2 separate regions of the Homo sapiens genome follow, and region 2 is linked to region 1. The links are contacts of gene promoters, found by promoter capture Hi-C in blood cells and fetal thymus (Javierre and others, 2016). All regions are on one chromosome and are shown on one strand. Each heading gives the region's core, a stretch centred on a gene start or on the middle of the fragment in contact. The rest is flanking DNA. Distances are from core to core; before and after follow the strand shown.

Evidence for each region. The method cuts DNA at HindIII sites, captures the fragments that hold promoters and counts their contacts. A CHiCAGO score of 5 or more calls a contact.
Region 2: the fragment with the promoter of DHH here is called in contact with the fragment with the promoter of GPD1 in region 1 in 1 of 17 cell types (total CD4 T cells); the score reaches 5.8 in total CD4 T cells.

What each region holds. Positions count from the first base shown.
Region 1 is chr12:50,101,846-50,109,188 of GRCh38, forward strand. GPD1 (glycerol-3-phosphate dehydrogenase 1) reads left to right here and starts at 2,163. Exons shown (of 8, transcript NM_005276.4): 1 at 2,163-2,246; 2 at 2,729-2,906; 3 at 3,703-3,843; 4 at 4,443-4,581; 5 at 4,960-5,072; 6 at 5,722-5,955; 7 at 6,179-6,285. The coding sequence starts at 2,206. RefSeq lists an enhancer at 1,173-1,222. The HindIII fragment of the contact is 4,893 bases long and covers 1,941-6,833 here.
Region 2 is chr12:49,092,892-49,099,906 of GRCh38, forward strand. DHH (desert hedgehog signaling molecule) reads right to left here and starts at 1,910. Exons shown (of 3, transcript NM_021044.4): 1 at 1,319-1,910. The coding sequence starts at 1,621. It overlaps DHH-AS1 (DHH antisense RNA 1), which reads left to right. Exons shown (of 4, transcript XR_007063295.1): 2 at 1-14; 3 at 1,231-1,297; 4 at 2,510-2,853. LMBR1L (limb development membrane protein 1 like) reads right to left here. Exons shown (of 17, transcript NM_018113.4): 16 at 5,053-5,214; 17 at 4,248-4,848. The coding sequence ends at 4,781. The HindIII fragment of the contact is 10,631 bases long and covers 1-2,134 here.

The sequences.
Region 1 (7,343 bases), core at 913-3,412:
GAATATAGGATCAGAGTACAACCACTTTCCAAAGTTGTAGTTTAAAAATTATCCTTTGCCTGTTTGGATGGGAACATTCTAGTATTGCCTGTTCAATATATGTAATCAAACCCACCAAAAAATCCAACCACTGTTCCTACTCCGGAACTTGGGGTTTATCAGACTTGAGAAGGGAAAGCAGAGAGGAGTGGTTGGGCCGATAACTAGGAGTGGAGAAAATTGATGTCAAGGACATTGAAATGGCATCTGTTTTTACCCAGGCTAATTACATGTGTAATGAATGGCTGATGAACCATTATTAATTTCAAGCAAATCTACAGTTTGCTCTTGGGAAAAGAGCTCTAGTGATACAGATAACTTCCTGTGATGAGCCGATTCTGAATCTCTGCACCCTCTTTATTCCCATGTAAATGAGCACATTCTTAGTCTCCACACTATCTAAAATGATTGTAGGGGCAAAATGAGAGAGGGAAGCATTTAGGCAAAAACAAGGGGGTTATTTTATGCATAAACATCCATTCTTTGGGGCTCCCATCATTTGTGCCAGGGACAGAAGCATCCTTTCTCTTCCATCACCCGTAATCAGTGCTCCCAGCTGGCAGCCTGGCACTGGAGCCTTCATCTCAGTGCCAGTGCAATAAAGGAGTGGTCTGTGGGAGGCTGTTTCTGTATTAGGTATAACATTGTGCTAAGAAAAACAGCCAACTACTGATTTCATGTCCGTTTCCCTATGGGAAATTACTGGCCATGGAAGGAGAATATGGTTGGTTTTTCCTGGGCAGTCCCCGGAACTTAGAAAGCCATTTCTCCCCAGTCTTGACCTCCTGCCTGCTTACTCCTACCCATGGGTTGCACACAGACTCCCCTGTAGCCCAGTGCTTGTTACCAGTTGCTGGCCAGCAACAGCCCAGGGGGATGGCAACACCCACCTAGCCGTCTGCCAAGCCAGGAGGTCAGCACATGAGCACACAGTGGTGTCTGCCCTCTAGGCCAAGGTGCACAGTGTTAGGAGCCTCTTGCTCCACTCTCCAGATCAGCCTGGAAACCAGAGCTTCCCTCGTCTTAGACAAACAGATGGCCGTGGGCGATGCAGAGCCCTGAACTGCTGAGGGTGCTCCTTCCATTCTCGCCCTTCCCCAAAAAACATACACCAAACTTACCCCCAATCACAGCATCTGAGACCACAAAGCCCCACGGACACAGCTGCCCCGGGTACTGCCTGCCTTCCCCTTTTCTGGCCTCTGCAAACTAGCCATTCACCTGATGAAGCCCCTGGGGCAGTACCTTGGAAACCCCTGAGAGGAGGAGTTGAAGGAGGCTCAAAGCCTTTCAAGGACAGTGTGCACTCTGCCTGCCTCCTATTCTCTCCTGTCCTCTTAAGCCCAGAGTCTACAACAAAATTGTGTACCGCAATTCTCAGAGCTCTCTAACTTTAACCTTTCCCACCTTCCCTAGAACACATTTTTGGGTGGGGATCATCTGAGAGGCCCATGGATGAGTCCCCAAGATGACCTCTGTGGGTGACCAAGACAATCTTGTCTTTTGAGGCACCTGGAGTCTCTCATCCTTTTTTGAGCTGGGCTGTCCTCAAAGCAGGCCCTTACCTCTTATGTGGCCTCATCTTTAGAGGTGGGAAGTGGGCCCACATCCCCCACCCCAGCCCTGCAGTGGAGCTAGCGTGGGCCTGCTGGAGGACAGAACTGTGGAACAGGGTCCTGTGAGGATATGTGGCAGGGTTGGCGGGGGGATAGGGGGTCATGGAGGAGCCTACCTCTGAAAAGCATTCCCCTAGCTGCTACTGAAGCTAAATACAATTTATTTCATGCTGGGGGACAGAAAGGAGCAAGGGAGAGCAGTCACCTGCTCCTTATCTGGGCTATTTTCTTAGCAGACCTCAAAATGAGACCATGGTGGGAAGCTGGGCTGGGGCCAAGGGAAGAAGCTTGCCAGCACTGTCAGCCGATGAGCCCAGGAGAAAAAGCTGGGCCTAGTCTCTGCCCCATTCCTGTTCCACACCTGTCTGTACCCCTGTCTCTCCTTTCCCTGGCTCTGCCAGACTCTCTATCTCCCTGGGCGCCAGCCTCCCCACCCACCCCTGGAGGGCGGGGCTTGGCTGCACCCACGTGTGGTGGAGTTAAATGCTCCTAGCCGGCAGAGGAGCTAGGGAGTGTGGCACTGAGCCGGCTCAGGCAGAGACGCGGCACCATGGCTAGCAAGAAAGTCTGCATTGTAGGCTCCGGGAACTGGTAAGCAGCTCTGTCAAGTGATATGGGGGAAGGGTAGGCCCCCCAAGACAGAGGTGGGTAGGAGGCAGAATGGGTGGGAAAGGCCCTCAGGTTCCTGTTCAGCCCCTGCTGCTATCTTCTATCATAGCAGCACAGGACAGACGGTGCCCGGCCCTCTCCTGACCCCCGCCCTCCTGGGCAGCTGCACCTGTTCACCATGGGAAGGCGTCTCCAGAGCTCTCTATGTGAAGAGCCGCTTGAGTTTGGGGGTGGGAAGATGAGAAGTGGGGCTCCCTTCTCTAGTAGCAAAGGGTGAGGAGACTGAGTCTCCTTTCTACTGCCAGGTCACTGGGGACTATTTGTCATGGGAGTGGAGGTGATAAGGAAGGTAGGTAGGAGTGAACAGCCTGGGGGGCTGCTGTGAGATCCTGAGGTGGGGCGCTGCCCCAACTCCTGCCACTGTTCCCTCCTCCTGTACTTTCCTGTGCTCCCCCTCCCACCAGGGGCTCAGCCATCGCCAAGATCGTGGGTGGCAATGCAGCCCAGCTGGCACAGTTTGACCCACGGGTGACCATGTGGGTATTTGAGGAAGACATTGGAGGCAAAAAGCTGACTGAGATCATCAACACGCAGCATGAGAATGTCAAATACCTGCCAGGGCACAAGTTGCCCCCAAATGTGGTGAGCCCCAACACCCTGCGAAGAACAGGGAGAGGAAGGGAGGGCCAGGAGTTGGAGCCGACCTTACTCAACAGGTGCCTCCTGCTGAGAGGGCCGCTTCAGGTGCAGCAGGACTTGGGAAGGTCTCAGGAGGGCTGCTCTGGGCCCTTTCCTGAGGACTGAGGAGAACCTATGCTTTCCCCTCACAGGCTCCCAGGCGGGTGGGTGGGGAAGGGATGGGAGAACAAGTTGGTCTCCATGGCAGCCAAAGACTGGGCTCCCAGACTTGGGGTCCAGTAGTGCCTGCCTCCGGCACTAATCCTGTTACTCATTCACTGAGTGAGTAGCCGACTTGGAGGCTGCTCCTTGGACTTACGGTCTTTGGTCAAATCCACGTGGCTCTCCCCACCTGGAAAGGGGAAGCAGGGAAGAGAGCAGAAAGGCTGGGGCTCCCCCTTCCCAGCTGGGGTTCCTGAGGAGCTGGGTGATGAAATCTTATTTGAGCTCTTTCTTTTGCCAAGCCCAGGCTGCTTTTGGCCTCCCGCACTGTCCCACAGCCAAGGGATAGGAGAGTGCTGGGATGAGGTTTCCAGGAGTCCTCAAGAGCCCAGGACAGCTGGAGGGAGACAGAGTGGTAGCTGGGGGGAGGGAGTAGAGTGTCTTATTCCTCCAAGTTCAGTCCTTCTAGATTCAGTCCCAAACAAGCCTTCCTGCTCCCCTACCAGCCTCACTCTTTGGCTCCCAGATCTCCTGAATAGGGTTCCACAGGGGCTAGGGGAGGTCTGCCAGGCCCGCGAGCACTTGGTCACCCCCACAGGTGGCTGTCCCAGATGTGGTCCAGGCTGCAGAGGATGCTGACATCCTGATCTTTGTGGTGCCCCATCAGTTCATCGGCAAGATCTGTGACCAGCTCAAGGGCCATCTGAAGGCAAACGCCACTGGCATATCTCTTATTAAGGTGCCAGGGACACCTTCATGTGGATGGGGGAGGGTGCGGCTCACTGTTGTGGGGTTCAGGGTGGGTGAAGCAAGGAGAACAGAAAATGGCAGACGCAGGCCAAGAGTTTGCTGGAGAAAAGAGAGGCAGTTGGCTCTGGAGAGGCTTAGGAAAGCAGTGAGGTGCTGGGGGTCACTGGAAGGGAGGCTGAAGGGAGGAGACGAGATTGGTTTGGAGGTCCTCTCGGGGAGTTTCGGAGGTATAAAGGAATGCCTGGGAGATATGAGAAGCGGGCTGGTTTGAGAAGTGTGAAGAGTAGCTGGTTTGGAGCAGTGACTGGTCACTGAATGGCAGTTTGTTGGGGCAGTCAGGCGGGGTTGCCTAGGGATGTGGAGGGGACCCGTTGCCTTGGAGAAGTAGACTGGTTGAGGGTATGTGGCAGGACAGTTGGTCACATGCTGTCTGGCCTCCTCACAGCAAACTTGAGCTGGGTTGGAATGGGGCAGGACCTGTCGGGAGGGACACAGATGAGCAATGGATTTGGAAGGGACAGAATTTCTGGGCGGAAGCCCGCAGGTGGGCCCAAAGGGCACCTGGCCTGAGCTCCATCCTGTGCTCAGGGGGTAGACGAGGGCCCCAATGGGCTGAAGCTCATCTCGGAAGTGATTGGGGAGCGCCTCGGCATCCCCATGAGTGTGCTGATGGGGGCCAACATTGCCAGCGAGGTGGCTGATGAGAAGTTCTGTGAGACAACCATTGGTGAGAGCCCCCTGGCACCTGCATACACAGTGCATCTAGTTGCATCCCCTCCCCAAACTGCCCCAACCCCACTTAGCCATCTCTTTCCCATAAGGCAGAGAAAGGAAAATACAAGCATCAGAGGTGAAGGAGGCTGGGACACCCCCAGGGAAGGGGCTTCAGGGCCTGCTTAGGGAAACACAGTGATGAGCCCTCCCTCAGAGTTGGTGCAGTGGCACACCTGTGGTCCCAGCTACTTAAGAGGCTGAGGTGGGAGGATCGCTTAAGCCCAGGAGTTTGAGTCCAGCCTGGGCAACAGAGAGAGACTCCCATCTCTATAAAATAAATATTTTTTAAAAAGAGTCCTTCCCTCAAAGCCTTGCCCCCTCCTCACTTTAGGCTGCAAGGACCCGGCCCAGGGACAACTCCTGAAAGAGCTGATGCAGACACCAAACTTCCGTATCACAGTGGTGCAAGAGGTGGACACAGTAGAGATCTGTGGAGCCTTAAAGGTGAGAGGGGCACAGAGGCAGCTATGGGGTGAGGAGAAGGCCCCAAAGGAGGTCTGGCTGAGCTCTGCAAGGCTGCAGGTACTCCAGGCTCTCACTATTGAGCAGTGGTTCCCCTTTCCTACCATGTCCCATGCATATAGGAGGAGCTGCAGAAGCAAGGCCAGGGCCATTCAGGCCGGCTGATTATTCATCATCAGACCGTGGACCCCCTTGCTCCTGTCCCATTTTAGCCCCGTGTGGGACTCCCCACCCTCTGGCTCCAGGAGGTGGTCCAGGGGGACAAGGAGATGCCCAGGCTAATGGGAGACAAAACATCCTTGACACCCAGACAGACTAATGGCCAGAACTATGGATCCTGGACAGCTGTTGACTTGAGGGCTGTACAATGGAATGGTCATAGATGGGAAGATCAACTAGAGAGAAGAGTGGTTTTCAGAAAATGTCCTCGAGGAGGGAGTATGGGGCAGGGCTTAAGAAAGGGGGTGCAGCAAGGGGGGAAACCAAGAGGCGGAAGTAGGCTTCTAAAAGGCCACACACTATACCTCTCTTCTGCAGTGGGTGTCACGGCTGATGAAATGAGTATGAGGGGGCTCCACATGGGGCCTATAGGAGGGGGTCTTTTCTCACCTATGACCTCCACTCCTTCAAGAATGTAGTGGCCGTGGGGGCTGGCTTCTGTGATGGCCTGGGCTTTGGCGACAACACCAAGGCGGCAGTGATCCGGCTGGGACTCATGGAGATGATAGCCTTCGCCAAGCTCTTCTGCAGTGGCCCTGTGTCCTCTGCCACCTTCTTGGAGAGCTGTGGTGTTGCTGACCTGATCACTACCTGCTATGGAGGGCGGAACCGGAAAGTGGCTGAGGCCTTTGCGCGTACAGGAAAGGTGGGCCCCGGGAGAAGGGAGAACAGAGGGGCGGCTCTGTAGGCATCCAGGTAGAGGTGCTTGGCGGGAGGCATCTCTGGAGCACAAACATTAAGACTGTTGTGCACATCCCCATCCCTCTTTTCCTCCCAAGACCCCACTCCCATCTGAGCTCCAGTCTCTCCACCCCCTACTGACAACCCTTCTCTCCCATTTCCATCCACTCATCCTGTTTTCTGCACAGTCCATTGAGCAGCTGGAGAAAGAGTTGCTGAATGGGCAGAAACTGCAGGGGCCCGAGACAGCCCGGGAGCTATACAGCATCCTCCAGCACAAGGGCCTGGTAGACAAGTAAGTATTGGCCACAGCCCCACTGATTAAGGGAGCCACAGCCAGAAGTGCTCGCCCTGTTCATCATCTTCCTAAACCTGCCACAAATCTGTGAAGTGGACAGAAAGGGGAGTATTACCTTACATTTCAGACAGAGTCCAGAGCTTGCAGAGTCTGGCATGCCCATTGTCCGCCAGCTAGTTCATGGTCTTTGAACTCCTTCCAGTCTAGTGCTCTTCACACTACATTACCTGGATCCCTTTGTGCCCCTCCTTCCTTGTCCTCTGCTCTGGGGTTGGAGCTCTGGGGCAGCAGGAATAAGCTCATCCCACTTCTGTCCATCACCCCTAGTTTGAGTCTCTTCCCCAAGGCCAACCCATCTGTTCCCTGAATCCTGTTCTGGGTGCTGAGGTGTAAGGAGAAGGATGGGCTTCAAGGTGCTCGTTTTCAGAAAGACAGCGGGGGTGATTGGGCTGATCAGAGCAGAGCTGTGCTGGTCTGAGAAAGACTCCTAGAAGAAGACAGTATGAAACAGGTTCAGAATATCCACTCATGACTGGTCAGGGTAAAGCTTGGAAAAGGGAGCAGCTGGGCAAAAGGACAGTAAGAAGGAAATGAGTATTTATTAAGCACTTTCACATCATACCTAATTACATCTTCACATACACAATCATTCCTTTGTTATATTGGCCCCATTTTACAGTTGGTGACACTGAGGCTCAGAGAGGTTAAGTGGGTTGCTCAAGGCTGGGTGTGGTGTCTCACACCTGTAATCCCAGCACTTTGGGAGGCCAAGGTGGGTGGATCACGAGGTCAGGAGTTTGAGCTCAGCCTGACCAACATGGTGAAACCCCATCTCTACTAAAAATACAAAAATTAGTCAGGCATGGTGGTGTGTGCCTGTAATCCCAGCTACTCAGGAGGCTGATGCAGGAGAATCGCTTGAACCTGGGAGGCGGAGGTTGCAGTGAGCCAAGATTGCACCACTGCGCTCCAGCCTAGGCGACAGAGCGAGAGTCTGTCTCAAAAAAAAAAAAAAAAAAAAAAAAGTGGGTTGCCCAGTTGGCACAGAAAATCCA
Region 2 (7,015 bases), core at 660-3,159, 1.0 Mb before region 1:
TTTCCCATCTCTAGGTAGGAGGAAGGCTTCAGGGCAGAAGCAAAAGGAATTATTTCTTCCCTGGACAGGTTTTCCTAACAAAGTAACCTGGAAAACTATGGCAATTAATCAGAGGAAATCCGTACCCCTCCCTCTCCCCCCACCTCCCCACTCCATACACAATTAGGTGGTGTAATGGAAAGTATATAGGGCTTAGAATCAGGAGTCCTGAATTCTAGTCCCAGCCATGCCACTTTAAATTGTGAGAGTTTAAATTGCTTTTCCTCCTGGGGGAAGTCCAGCTCTCAGATGTAAAATGAGGGTGGCAGTGGGGGTGGGGAGGGTTGGAGGAATGTCATCTCTCAAGTTTTCTTTCAGTTCTAACATTCAAGATCACTGGCCAGGCTGGATGAAGTGGCTCACACCTGTAATCCAGCACTTTGGGAGGCCGAGGTGGGAGGATCCCTTGAGCTCAGGAGTTCAAGACTAGCCTAGGCAACATGGCAAGACCCCGTCTCTACAAAAAATAAAAAATAAATCACTCGCCAGAGGTGGTCCTTCTCTTCCACCTCACTCTAGGTGGTTCCAATGCTCAAAAATGGTAGTTGAATTTATCCTAATTATGTAATTCCAAGGAAAGCCCCTGAGATAGGCAGAGCTTGGAAGACTTAGGAGCCCTCTGATTCTCAGGTGGGTCCATCTGTTATTCTCACTGAGGATTACTTTTTAACCCCAAGATTATCGTTTAGACCCTAGGATAGCCCTAGAATAGACCCTAGAATAGATGTGTCCTGGTTCTAGGACACGTTTCCCATGCCAAAAGCAATGTCTGCCCAGCCCCTCCTCAGGTAGATGGTCTGGTGACCTGACCCTTGGCCACCCCTGTCCCAGCCCTTTTCAGTCTCTTCTTTTCGGCCCACAGAGCTTTTCTACAATCAGGTCAGGAGCCAGGCTTCTGTCTGCTACCTAGCCAGCTCCTGGCCCCCAGCTCACCCCAGCCCTTCCTGCCTGGCTGGGTGGCTGACCCCCGGTCCACGCCTCAGCCATTTCCCGTCTCGCCTGCCGCCATCCTCCTTTCCCCGCCCTCGCTGCCTCTACCAGCTTCACTCTCACTAGTCAGTCCCTCCTCCCCTCCCCATCCCAGACTATTCTAGTCGGGAGCCGTCCTAATTACTCTGTCCAGACTGCAAGGATTTTTCCCCCCCCTGGGGCTGGTGACAAGGGAAATCTCTAAGGCTAAACTCTCTGTAGGTGAAGCTGGACTCACCCACCTGGGCTGCCATAGGAAAACGGAGGAGCTGGCAGTGCCCCGGCGCAGGTAGGGAGAGGCCCTCCTTACCTCGGTCATCAGGCGGTCGGCTCCACTGTTCTCCTCATCCTTGAAGATGATGTCGGGGTTGTAGTTGGGCACGAGGTCCCGGAAGCGCTCGGAGCCCCTTGCCACCCTCCCCTCCGCTGGCCCACTGGCGCCCAGGGTCCGCTCTGGCACGCCGGGCACAAATTGCTTGTAGAGTAGCGGCACGAGCTGCTTGCGCGCATAGCGGCGCCGGCCAACCGGCCCCCGGCCCGGCCCGCAGCTCTGGGCTGGCAGCGCCAGAAGTGCCAAGCAGCACAGGGGCAGTAGATTGGTCAGGAGAGCCATGGATACAGCGGACCTCGGCCAAAAGGGAGCGTTCTTGTCCTCACTAACTCTCCTGTCAGTTAGGCATCTCCACAGGCACCAGAGAGGGCAGCAGGCACAGCTGCCCCCAGAGTGCCCTAGAGCTCTTGTGGCTCCGTGCACCTGGCTGCTGCTAGCTCTGCCCACGTGCCCCGGGAGCGGGCGGGGGGTGTCTAGGACCTGCTACTGACAAACCATCATAGCAGGGAAGGGGGGTCGTGGGTGAGTGCCAGCCCAGCCCGTCTCTGCTGCAGGACTCTGGTGCTGCCAGAACGCCCGGACTCCGGACTCCGCCTTAAGTGGCCCCTGGCCCCGCCCTCCGCCCTTCTCCCAAGACCGTCCCACCCCCTCCCACCCGGGCGGGGGATCTAGCCGGTCACTGCTGGTCCATTTTGCGACTGAAGTGTGTCCCATCCTGGAAACCAGGCAGACACCTGCCTAGGAAATACTTGTAGCTTTACAGTCCTTGGCTGCCTAAACATCCTTCTACCTCCAAGCTTAAACTTGGAACCAAACCACCCTCCTCTGATACTTGAATTGGAATTTTTACTCTCTCAAAGCCTACCCTGGCAGGCCATGCCCTCCGCTGTCATCCAGGAAGTATGGGTTCCAATTTCTGCCCAAGACCAGCCAAGCCCTTTGGGCATACAACCAGAGCCTCCCTTCTCTGTAGTCCTCCCCAGATCTCCCCGACTTCCATCTCTCCTCACATTCAGCATTAAGCAGGACTGGGAGGTGAGGATACCAGGGGCCCATTTCTCTACTAACTTTGCAGTCTCCTTTGGAACTTCCCCAGAACCAGGAACAGAGCTTGGTACTTATTGTCTCATTTAGGACTTCCAACTTTTTTCCCCTTCTCTTCTTTGCCAGGCATCTAATAGCTGCTGTTTTTCAAATGAATGACTTCTCAGTTGGAAGCTGCTGAAGGGCAGTGGACACTCAAAAGTCTTTGTAAGAGGTGAGGATCACTTCCCTTAACCGTCCATCTAGGCACCTCTCCAGCTTTCTCCCTCTCTGGACTCCCGGGGCTCCATTTTCAGCCACTCAGATCTCATCTCAGAGGCACCACGTCCAATTTCTTTTGTTTAGAAGTCATTTCTTCTAAGAAGCCTTCCTTGATGTCCCAACACTGCCCACCTGTGTTCCCTCGAGAACCATTACTTAACTGCAGTGTTAGAACAGTATTAGAATTATCTGGCACCTTACTAGACAAAGCAATCTTAAGCACACACATATTTATCATGTATCTCCAAGGTTAAGTGCCTACTCTACAGAAGGGTGCTTTGCAAGCATTTGTGGAATCTACACTTTGTGTTTCATATTCACCCTCCCCTCACCACACTCTATGGCTAGTACTCATAGCAACTTTGTGTACATCAGAAAAAACCAGGCCAGGCACAGTGGCTCACTCCTGTAATCCCAACACTTTGGGGGCGAGGCAAGGACTGCTTGAGGCCATGAGTTGAAGACCAACTTGGTCAACATAGTGACACCCCGTTTCAAAAAAAAAAAATTAATTAGTGGGAGGTAGTGGTACATGCCTGTAGTCTTAGGTACTCAGGAGGCTGAGGAAGGAGGATCACTTGGGTGCAAGAGTTCAAGGCTGTAGAGTGAGCTAAGATCATGCCACTGCACTCTAACCTGGGTGACAGAGTGAGGACCCCCCCCCCCAAAAAAAAGATGGCTGGGTGTTGTGGCTAACCCCTGTAATTCCATCATTTGGGGAGTCCAAGGTAGGTGGATCACTTGAGCTCAGGAGTTCAAGACCAGCCCAGGCAACATGGCAAAACCCCATCTCTACTAAAAATACAAAAATTAGCCAGGCATGGTAGCATGTGTCTGTTGTCCTAGCTATTCTGGAGCCTGAGCTGGAAGAATGGCTTGAGCCCAGAATGCGGAGGTTGCAGTGAGCTGAGATTGCACCACTGCACTCCAGCCAGGGTGATAGAGCCAGACCTTGTCTCACAAAAAAAAAAAAAAAAAAAAGAAGAAGAAAAAAGAAAAAAAAAGCACCCCTTCCTCAAGATGACTGACATTTATTAGAAAACTATCATAGTAACTATCCACACAATGACTATGAGGTGAATGGTGTCCCTGGAAGCTGTGCAATACACAATCTGTATAAGCCTAAGTTTTGCGCTCTTACTCCCAACATAGCACATGGGCTTTTCAAGAAACTGATGGCCTCTAGTAAAAAGCTAGATTCTTCTCTCAGGTAGGAAATGAAAATCCTTGTCAGCCAGCCACTTATTTTACTCTATATCCAATAGTTAAGCCAGGGAGGATAGGGCTGAAGGTATGAGTGTATCGGGGAGGTTAGCCTACTCCTATGCCCATGTCCTACCCCCAATACTCAAGGTACAGAAACAAGGCCATGAATATAAGGAGGAGTCAGGGGACAAGCCAGCTTTAAGCAAGACTGAGGATGGAGGAGTTTCCCACTGCCCAACTGCATGGCCTAACACCAGATCCAAGTCCCCAAAGGATGGTAATAATATAGATGAAGGGGAAGGAAAAGGATGGTGGGCAGGACCCCTCTGCTTCTCTTACTGGGCAGACGCCGGGCTGGTGGGAGCAAGGCTGTTCAAATATACACAGAGACAGGTGCTTTAAAAAAACAAAGCAAACCCTGGGATCAACTTTATTGCTGATGGCTGAAGCCTCCTCCTCCCTATCCCCTTGGTCTTTCAGGTGGTCCAAAGCCCCTCCAGGATAGCACAGTGCTTAGGCTCTGCTGGGCCAGAGGCAAGGGAGACAATCTATCTCCCGAGCCTGCCCTGGCCCAGTCCTTTCCCTGCCCCTACCCCACCCTATTGCACATCAAATCATGTAAACATGGCTATGGGGATGGCCCAGAACAGCAGTGAGGCAGATTGATGTGTAAACAGATTTGGGATCAGGGGCTAGACCCAGTCACCCAGCCCTACCCCATGCTGAGGCCACAGTTAAGTATGGAAAAGCAGGAGGTCCTGGTCCCAAACTCTGGCTCAGATTATGCAATAGTGCAGATGGCTCTGCTCCCCTCTGCCACCCACCCTCTCAGATTCCAGGTCCTGAGGTCCAAGTAGCCTTGGGCTTCCCTCCAGGCCTAGGCAGCAGATGGCAGTGTCCAGTTTTTTCCTTCCCACCCCCAGCTGGAGGTCACTGGTGCTGGGTCTTCCTAGATGCCTGGGGGAAACCGGAGACGGGCAGCGGCAGTCTGTCCAGCCCTGGAGAAGAGGAGATGGGCAGTCAAAAGCAAGTCAAAGGTCCAGTCCGTTAGGGACCAGGCAGCCAAGCCACAGAATGTGTGGATGAGGTACGTTACCCACAAAGCAGGAAGCACACCCTCTCCCCTGCTGGGGTGATCCATGTTCCAGAGTGTCCTAGATGATTACCACCCCCCACTAGCCTGCACCCTCACTCCCTCTCACCAAAGGCCCGGATCAGCTCTGCCCGCACAGCTGCAGTGAAGGTCTTCACCAGACAGAGTGTGGTGAGGCCTGCAAAGGCTGCGTTGTAGAGGAACACAATGTAGAAATTGCCCAGCCAGTTGAAGCGTCCAAAGTCACCCAGCAGGTCAAAGCGAGTGAGCCCTGAAGCACAAAGGCCAGGATGAGAGGTGGGCTCCCCAGGCCCTTTTCTGCTACCAGCCCAACTTTCTGCTGCCTCCTGGTGGCCACATTTCAACACTGCAACTGATAGGTTGGCCTCTCCCAATTCTACCACCCAAGCTGTCTCAAGAGCAGTTCGGGACTGTTCTAAGTGCCAGCAGCTAGGCTTGCTTCAACTTCGCTTCCAGAGTCTGGTATCTTCTCCTCCAGTGAGGCCTCCTCTGGCTCCTGGTGTCCCCAGGAACTCCCAGGGCCTACTACTTGTTCCTGGGCCTGGAATAAGCAGTTTGCCAAGTTTTTTTTAGTAGACAGAACAGTGTGGTTGCTGGGCGCTCATACTCATCAGGCTGCTTTGGTTCATATCCCAACTCCACCCCTAACTAGCTGCGTGATCTGGGGCAATTTCCTTAAATTTTCTGTGCCTCAGTTTCCTAAGAATTAAATGAGACAACACACATAAAGCACTGTCTGTGCCAGGCACTATTCTAACATTTACTGGTCCCCTCATAATATTATCATAAATCAAAAAACTCTGCTCTCCACCTTTAAATATTCTTACCTGCATCCACCCTAAAGGAACTAACTGGAAGACCCACAAACCTACTTTCTTACAAATTCTCCTGGCATAAATACAAATGGTAGAGTGGAAATAATATAACGTTAAGAATGAAATAGAGCTGTTTTTTGTTTTGTTTAATTTGGTTTTGTCTTAAGACAGGGTCTTGCTCTGTTGCCCAGGTTGGAGTGCAGTGGCACAGTCTTAGCTCACTGCAGCCTCAAACTCCTGGGCCCAAGCAATCCTCCTGCCTCAGTCTCACACATAGCTAGGACTATAGGTGTGCTAATTAAAAACACTTTTTTTTTTTTTTTTGGTAGAGATGGGGTCTCACTATATTGCTCAAGCTGGTCTAGGACTCCTGGCCTCAAGTGATCCTCCCACCTTGGCCTCCCAAAGTGCTAGGATTACAGGCGTGAACCACCAGGCCTGGCTCACAGCTGATTTTTTTTTTTTTTTTTTTCTGAGACAGAGTCTCGCTCTGTCACCCAGGCTGGAGTGCAGTGGTACCATCTTGGCTCGCTGCAACCTCCACCTCCCAAGCTCAAGCAATTCTCATGCCTCAGCCACCTCCCAAGCTCAGCAATTCTCATGCCTCAGCTGAGATTACAGGCATGTGCCACCATACCTGGCTAATTTTTATATTTTTCATAAAGATGGGGTTTCACCATGTTGGCTAGGCCGGTCTTGACCTCCTGGCCTCAAGCTGATCTGTCCACCTTGGCCTCCCAAAGTGTGAGATTACAGACGTGAGCCACCAGGCCTGGCCCCAGAACTGACTTAAATATGAAATCACATATAAAATACAGAGGATGATGTGGTATTTAGGGGGAGGTAGGAGGGCGGCTGTTACCTCTGCAGCTCACACACTACCTTGGGGTGAACTAGTTACACTCTTGAACTTTTTTTTTTTTTTTTTGAGATGAAGATTCGCTCTTGTTGCCCAGGCTGGAGTGCAATGGCGTGAGCTCAGCTCACCGCAACCTTTGCCTCCCGGGTTCAAGTGATTCTCCTGCCTCAGCTTCCCGAGTAGCTGGGACTACAGGCATGCACCACCACACCTGGCTAATTTTGTATTTTTAGTAGAGATGGGGTTTCTCCATGTTGCTCAGGCTGGTCTCGAAATCCTGACCTCAGGTGATCCGCCCGCCTTGGCCTCCCAAAGTGCTGGGATTACAGGCATGAGCCACTGCGCCCAGCCACTCTTGAACTTTTTAACCAGTTAAT